3 separate regions of the Homo sapiens genome follow, and regions 1 and 2 are each linked to region 3. The links are contacts of gene promoters, found by promoter capture Hi-C in human tissues and cell types (Jung and others, 2019). All regions are on one chromosome and are shown on one strand. The core of a region is centred on a gene start or on the middle of the fragment in contact, and the rest is flanking DNA. Distances in the headings are between cores, read along the strand shown.

Region 1 (2,758 bases), core at 19-2,518, 320 kb before region 3:
ATACATATTTAGGATAGTTAGCTCTTCTTGTTGAATTGATCCCTTTTCCATTATGTAATGGCCTTCTTTGTCTCTTTTGATCTTTGTTGGTTTAAAGTCTGTTTTATCAGAGACTAGGATTGCAACACCTGCCTTTTTTTGTTTTCCATTTGCTTGGTAGATCTTCCTCCATCCCTTTATTTTGAGCCTACGTGGGTCTCTGCATGTGAGATGGGTTTCCTGGATACAGCGCACTGATGGGTCTTGACTTTTTAACCAATTTGCCAGTCTGTGTCTTTTAATTGGAGCATTTAGCCCATTTACATTTAAGGTTAATATTGTTATGTGTGAATTTGATCCTGTCATTATGATGTTAGCTGGTTATTTTGCTCATTAGTTGATGCAGTTTCTTCCTAGCCTTGATGGTCTTTACAATTTGGCATGTTTTTGCAGTGGCTTTTGCTGGTTGTTCCTTTCCATGTTTAGTGCTTCCTTCAGGAGCTCTTTTAGGGCAAGCCTGGTGGTGACAAAATCTCTCAGCATTTGCTTGTCTGTAAAGGATTTTATTTCTCCTTCACTTATGAAGCTTAGTTTGGCTGGATATGAAATTCTGGCTTCAAAATTCTTTCCTTTAAGAATGTTGAATATTGGCCCCCACTCTCTTCTGGCTTGTAGAGTTTCTGCTAAGAGATCAGCTGTTAGTCTGATGGGCTTCCCTTTGTGGGTAACCTGACCTTTCTCTCTGGCTGCACTTAACATTTTTTCCTTCATTTCAACCTTGGTGAATCTGACAATTATGTGTCTTGGAGTTGCTCTTCTCAAGGAGTATCTTTGTGGCATTCTCTGTATTTCCTAAATTTGAATGTTGGCCTGCCTTGCTAGATTGGGGAAGTTCTCCTGGATAATATCCTGCAGACTGTTTTCCAACTTTGTTCCATTCTCCCTGTCACTTTCACGTACACCAATCTGACGTAGATTTGCTCTTTTCACATAGTCCCATATTTCTTGGAGGCTTTGTTGATTTCTTTTTATTCTTTTTTCTCTAAACTTCTCTTCTTGCTTCATTTCATTCATTTCATCTTCCATCACTGATATCCTTTCTTCCAGTTGATCGAATCGGCTACTGAGGCTTGTGCATTCATCATGTATTTCTCGTGCCATGGTTTTCAGCTCCATCAGGACCTTTAAGGAATTATCTGCATTGGTTATTCTAGTTAGCCATTCGTCTAATTTTTTTTCAAGGTTTTTAACTTCTTTGCAATGAGTTCGAACTTCCTCCTTTAGCTCAGAGTAGTTTGATCATCTAAAGCCTTCTTCTCTCAACTCGTCAAAGTCACTCTCCATCCAGCTTTGTTCCATTGCTGGTGAGGAGCTGCGTTCCTTTGGAGGAGGAGAGGTGCTCTGATTTTTACAATTTTCAGTTTTTCTGCTCTGTTTTTTCCCCATCTTTGTGGTTTTATCTACCTTTGGTCTTTGATGATGGTGATGTACAGATGGGGTTTTGGTGTGGATGTCCTCTCTGTTGGTTAGTTTTCCTTCTAACAGTCAGAAACCTCAGTTGCAGGTCCATTGGAGTTTGCTAGAGGTCCACTCCAGACCCTGTTTGCCTGGGTATCAGCAGTGGAGGCTGCAGATCAGTGAATATTGGTGAACAGCAAATGTTGCTGGCTGATCGTTCCTCTGGAAGTTTTGTCTCAGAGAGGTACCCAGCCATGTGAGGTGTCAGTCTGCCCCTACTGGGGAGTGCCTCCCAGTTAGGCTACTCAGGAGTCAGGGACCCACTTGAGGAGGCAGTCTGTCCATTCTCAGATCTCAAGCTGCATGCTGGGAGAACCACTACTGTCTTCCAAGCTGTCAGACAGGGACATTTAAGTCTGCAGAGGTTTCTGCTGCCTTTTGTTTGGCTATGCCCTGCCCCCAGAGGTGGAGTCTGCAGAGGCAAGCAGGCCTCCTTGAGCTGCGGTGGGCTCCACCCAGTTCAAGCTTCCTGGCCACTTTGTTTACCTGCTCAAGCCTCAGCAATGGCGTGTTCCCCTCCCCCAGCCTCACTGCCGCCTTGTAGTTTGATCTCAGACTGCTGTGCTAGCAACAAGCGAGGCTTCGTGGCCATAGGACCCTCCAAGCTAGGTGCGGGATATAATCTCCTGGTGTGCCATTTGCTAAGACCATCGGAAAAGTGCAGTATATGGGTGGGAGTGACCTGATTTTCCAGGTGCCGTCTGTCACCCCTTTTCTTGGCTAGGAAAGGGAATTCCCTGACCCCTTGTGCTTCCCGGGTGAGGCAATGCCTCACACTGCTTCGGCTCACACTTGGTGCACTGCACCCACTGTCCTGCACCCACTGTCTGACAATCCCCAGTGAGATGAACCTGGTACCTCAGTTGGAAATGCAGAAATCATCTGTCTTCTGCATTGCTCGTGCTGGGAGCTGTAGACTGGAACTGTTCCTACTTGGCCATCTTGGAACCGCCCCCTCTTCCACTTATTATTCACTGGCCAGAACTAGGCATGTGGCCCCAACTGAAAGGCAAAAGAGGCTAGAAAATAAATGGAAACACATACAATGTTTGGTGAGCACTAGCTCTTTATGTCACAAGTGAATAGACTACATACTATAATAATTTTAATTTTTAAAAAATGGTTATCTCAGGATAACTTTATGGAATGTTGAAAATACAAGTTTACCTAACATCTGTTGTTCAGTTGTACATATAATCTACATTGTGTTTATACTGTGATTCCTCTGTGCCAGACTGAAAACATGAAGTAGACAATAGTA
Region 2 (2,765 bases), core at 43-2,542, 380 kb before region 3:
AATTTGTGTACCCATTTAATAATAATGCCTTTTTATATTGGTCTAACTTTTGCTAAGTTCAAGTACAAAAATATTTATGTCATGGGAAAAGCTACTTGCAAACCATATATCCGATAGGGAGTTAATATGCAAAATATATAAGAAACTCAGACAAACTCAATAGTAAGAAAACAAACCATTTAATAAATGAGAAAAGAATCTGAATAGATATTTCTCAAAACAAGGCACACAAATGGCCAATAGGCATATGAAAAAAATGCTCAGCATCACTAACCATCAGACAAATGCAAATTAAAACCACAATAAGATATCACTTCATACCTGTTAGAATGGCTATTATCAAAAAGACAAAAGATAAGTGTTGATGAGGATGTGGAGGAAAGGGAACACTTGCACGCTGTAGTGGTAATGTAAATTAGTACAGCCACTACGGAAAACAGTATGAAGCGTCCTCAAAAAGTTAAATAGAGAATTATCCTGTGATCCAGCAATCCCACTTCTAGGTATATATGTAAAGGAAATAAAATCAGTATGTCAAAGAGACAGCCATACTTCCATGTTTATTGCAGCATTATTCACAATAGCCAAGACATGAAGTCAACCTAGGTGTCCATCAAGGGATGAATGGATGAAGAAAATGAGGTACAAACAATGGAATACTAGTCAACCTTAAAACAGAAGAAAATCCTGTCATTTGTGACAACATGAATGAAATCAGAGGACATTATATTAAGTGAAATAAGCCAGGCACAGAAAGACAAATACAGGTATATCTTAATTTATTATACTTTGCTTTTTTCTACTCTGCAGATAGCGGGTTTTTTTATAAATTGAAGGTTTGTGGCAACCCAGTGTGGAGCAAGTCTATTGGCACCATCTTTCCAACAGCATGTGCTCACTTTGTGTCTGTGTGTCACATTTTGGTAATTCTCTCAATATTTCAAATGTTTTTATTATTATTATATCTTTTATGGTGATCTGTGATCAGTGATCTTTGATTTTACAATTGTTATTGTTATTGTTTTGGGGTGCCACAAACTGCACCTGTATAAAACGGTGAACTCATTAAATGTGTGTGCTCTGACTGGTCCACCAACCAGCTGATTCTCTGTTTCTTTCCATCTTCTCAGGCCTCCCTATACCCTAAGATACAATAATATGGAAATTAGGCCAATTATTAACCCTGCAATGACCTCTAAGCTATTCAAATGAAAGGAAGAGTCTCACATCCCTCACTTAAATCAAAAGCTATTAATAGAAATGATTAAGCTTAGTTAGAAAGGCGTGTCAAAAGCTGAGATTGGCCAAAAGCTAGGCCTCCTATGCCAAACAGTTAACCAAGTTGTGAATGCAAATAAAAAGTTCTTGAAGGAAATGTATAATGCTACTCTAATGAACACACAAATGATAAGAAAGCAAAAGAGTGCTATTGCTGATATGGAGAAAGTTTTAGAGGTCTGGATACAAGATCAAACCAGCCACCACATTCTCTTAAACTAAAGCCTAATCCAGGGTAAGGCCTTAACTGTCTTCAATTATAAGAAGGCTGAGAAAGAGGTGAGGAAGCTACAAAAGAAAAGTTGGAACCTAGCAGAGGTTGGTTCATGAGGTTTAAGGAAAGAAGTTGTCTCCTTAACTTAAAAGTGCAAGGTAAAGCAGCAAGTGCTGGTGGAAAAACTGCAGCATGTTATCCAGAAGACCTAGCTAAAATCATTGCTAAAGGTAGCTACACTAAACAACAGATTTTCAATGCAGATGAAACAGCCTTCTATTGGAAGAAGATGTCATCTAGGCTGTTAATAGCTAAACAGAAGTAAATGCCTGGCTTCAAAGTTTCAAAGAATAATAATCTGACTCTCTTGTTAGGAGCTAATGCAGCTGGTGACTTTAATTTGAAGCCAAGATTCATTTACTATTCCGAAATATCCTAGGGCCTTTAAGAATTATGCTAATTTTCTCTGCCTGTGCTCTATCAATGAAGCAACAAAGCGTGGATGACAGCACAACTGTTTACAGCAGGGTTTACTGAATATTTTAAGCCCACTGTTGAGACCTACTGCTCAGAAAAAAAAGATTCATTTTAAAATATAATTGCTTATTGACAAGGCTCTTCTAGTCACTCAAGAGCTTGATGAAAGTGTGCAAGACTAATGTTTTTATGCCTGCTAACCATTCTGCAGCCCATGGATCAAGGAGTAATTTCAACTTTCAAGTAATATTATTTTAGAAATACATTTCACAGGGCTATAGCTGCTATAGATGATTCTGTTAATGGACCTGGGCAAAGTCAACTGAAAACCTTCTGGGAAGGATTCACTATTCTAGATGCCATTAACAACACTTATGATTCATGGGAAGAAGTCAAAATAACAACATTAATGGGAGTTTAGAAGAAGTTCATTCTAGCCCTCCTGGATGACTTTGAAGGGGTCCAAAAATTCAGTGGAGGAAGTAACTGCAGAGTTGGTAGAAATAGTAAGAGAACTAGAATTAGAAGTGAAGCCTGAAGATGTGATTTAATTGCTGCAATTTTATGATAAAACTTGACTGGGTGAAGAGTTCCTTCTTATGGATGAGCAAAGAAAGTAGTTTCTTTAAATGGTATCTACTCCTGATGAAGATCCTATGAACATTGTTGAAATGACAGCAAAGGATTTAGATAAGACATAAATGTCGTTGATAAAGTTCGATATGATTGACTCCTATTTTGAAAGTTCCGCTGTGGATAAAATGTTATCAAACAACATTGCATGCTATAGAGAAAT
Region 3 (2,841 bases), core at 184-2,683:
TTAGTATAACATAGACGTTCAAACCCTGGCTCCACCAATTAACCATTGTGGTATATTAGGCAAATTATTGATTTCTTTTGGGCTCCCTTTTCTACTCTGTAAAGTGGGGATAATACCTGCCTTATAAATGTAGTTCTACAGAGAAAATGAGATAATGTAAAAAAAAAAACAAAAAAAAAAAGGACTGAGAACATCGCCTGGGTCATACAAAGTGCTCTGTAAATGTTAACTGCTATTAACAGTTAAGTAGCCCTGGTGGGCTTGAGAGGTGTGGTTTAAGAAAAGCCGATCTCCAAAGAGGGCGGGGCCAGAGAAACGGCCAATTTCAAATTTACACCCAGATTAGGACTACTGCAGGAAATAATTATGCCAGATTGCTCTCCTGGAGGATTTCAACGTTTTCCCGTTGTCTAATGGCTCTTAGCATGTGAGGAGTCGTGAGCCCCTCTGAAAAATTGATGAAAGGGGTGTGCTGTCTCAGAAAAGTGCACAGCCTTTGTACACAATTCCAAGGGGTCGACAGAGAGGTCTGAGAACCATCCACCAACTCTTCCCCCAAGAATTTACAGCTCCCAGAAAATGCACTCCTGGTCTAAGCCATGAAGACGGGCCTCGACCCCTGGGCCCTGTCCCCGATTTAGAGGACTGACTGCTGCCAAGCCTCGGAGCTGTAACCAAAACAAAAGCAGCTCGCGTCCGGCGCCCCAAAGAGGTAGGTATCTTCAGGCCACAGAAGCACCCACACAGTCCTGTGCTCTACTGGGCAGCGACCAAACTCGATCCTAGGACCCGTGTGCAAGAACAAGGAGTACAGAACTGCGGGCTCTGGATCATCCCTTAGATTTTATCACGGCCACTGGCCACCTCCGAGGAAGGGTTCAAAGCCAGACTAGGCAGCGGTCTCTGAGGGAAGGTTTTCCTGATGGTTCCAGGAACCAAGAAGAGAGGGAGATGTGTGAAGCGAAAGAGGGAGATCCCAAACATTTCGCTTAGGCACCCATGACTCAAAGTAAATGGTCAAGAAAGGTCATCGCAGCCCGAAATCCACCGCCTCCTCAGCATCGGGAGCGCGGGAGCCAGGGCGCCGGGCCGCGCGAAGGCTTCTGGGGGCTGTAGTCCCCCGCTCGGCCCTCACCGCGACGCCGGAGAGCTGGGAACGGCAGGTGAACTACAACTCCCAGAGGGTAGCCCGCCTCCGCGACGACCACAGATCCGCATCAAAAGAACTGGTCCAGAACTGCACATCTAAACCTAGGTTTTCTGCTCTCCACTATTTAATTCAGCTCCGTGAAGTAAACCTTAGGACTCGGGGTAGGGATCGCCTTACCTTCTCCGGGAGGCAAAGCCGCGTCCACGCGCGCCACCGCCATATTTGCTGCTTGCTAATAATACCAGGCAACCGTCCTCCCGCGGCTCTGTGGAGCTTGTAATCTGAAGGAGGGAGCCGGAAACTATAACTCCCAGGATGCACGGCTCCCAGACGGCCCAATTGGCTGCTTACGCCTAATGATGTGAAGCTGGAGTTAGAATCTGAGGGTAGTGAGCTCAGGGACCCTGGCCCACTCGCTTATTTGACAGATGAGTCAACTGCGTTATTAGATGATCATTTCACTTCCTTGTCCAGGCGTTTGCGAAATTTGACACTTTTACCATCGGGATGATTGTAAGGAAGCTACTTAATGCAGACTGCATTTTACAACTCATTGCTGGAAGTCTCTGTGGGGGCTGCTCCATTCTTTTGATAATTGTGAATAAGTTGAAAGTTTTCAACTCCGCTATAGGAATGACCGATCTTGTTGAGATCATAAAAGTGGATACATTTTATTTGAAATTTTAGTTAAGTAAAAGTAAAGTATGCCGAAATAGAAACTTTTATACAGTATTTTTAAGTGATTGTTTGATTGTTCTTGAATATTTGACAAATCTTTTGACTTACGGGTATAAGTATGAACCAAGAACTTTTCCAGGGAGTATTCAAAATAACTTTAAAATATAATCTCCAGGCCGGGCGCAGTGGTTCACGTCTGTAATCCCAGCACTTTGGGAGGTCAACGCAGGCTGATCACCTGAGGTCGGGAATTCGAGACCCGCCTGGCCAACATGGAGAAACCCCGTCTGTAGTAAAAATACAAAAAAATTAGCCTGGCGTGGCGGCGCATGCCTGTAATCCCAGGTACTCGGGAGGCTGAGGCAGGAGAATCGCTTGAACCCGGGAGGCAGAGGTTGCAGTGAGCCGATATCATGCCACTGCACTCCAGCCTGGGCAACAAGAGCGAAACTATGTCTCAAAAATATATATATTTTATATAGATATTGCATATATTATAATTATATATAAATTATATATTATATATGTTATATATTTAGATATTATATATTATATGTTATATATTTAGATATTATATATTATATATGTTATATATTTAGATATTATATATTATATATGTTATATATTTAGATATATTATATATGTCATATATTTATATATTATATATTATATATGTTATATATTTAGATATTATATATTATATATGTCATATATTTAGATATTATATATTATATATGTTATATATTTAGATATTATATATTATATATGTTATATATTTAGATATATATGTTATATGTTATATATTTATATATTATATATGTTATACATTTATATATTATATATGTTATATATTTATATATTATATATTATATATGTTATATATTTATATATTATATATTATATATGTTATATATTTATATATTATATATTATATATGTTATATATTTATATATTATATATTATATATGTTATATATTTATATATTATATATGTTATATGTTATATATTATATA

The links. Contacts are between HindIII fragments. The study calls those that stand out against the background at their distance.
Region 1: a fragment that was not itself captured here is called in contact with the fragment with the promoter of CEP97 in region 3 in 1 of the 25 tissues and cell types used here (lymphoblastoid cells).
Region 2: a fragment that was not itself captured here is called in contact with the fragment with the promoter of CEP97 in region 3 in 1 of the 25 tissues and cell types used here (lymphoblastoid cells).

Annotation. Positions count from the first base shown.
Region 1 is chr3:102,039,619-102,042,376 of GRCh38, reverse strand. No RefSeq gene overlaps it. Among named protein-coding and RNA genes, the nearest start is that of RDUR, 100 kb to the right of the region's middle. The HindIII fragment of the contact is 3,296 bases long and covers 1-2,758 here.
Region 2 is chr3:102,106,992-102,109,756 of GRCh38, reverse strand. No RefSeq gene overlaps it. Among named protein-coding and RNA genes, the nearest start is that of RDUR, 170 kb to the right of the region's middle. The HindIII fragment of the contact is 5,825 bases long and covers 1-2,765 here.
Region 3 is chr3:101,723,206-101,726,046 of GRCh38, reverse strand. CEP97 (centrosomal protein 97) reads right to left here and starts at 1,433. Exons shown (of 11, transcript NM_024548.4): 1 at 1,328-1,433. The coding sequence starts at 1,370. RefSeq lists enhancers at 1-566, 738-807, 1,088-1,457. The HindIII fragment of the contact is 12,301 bases long and covers 1-2,841 here.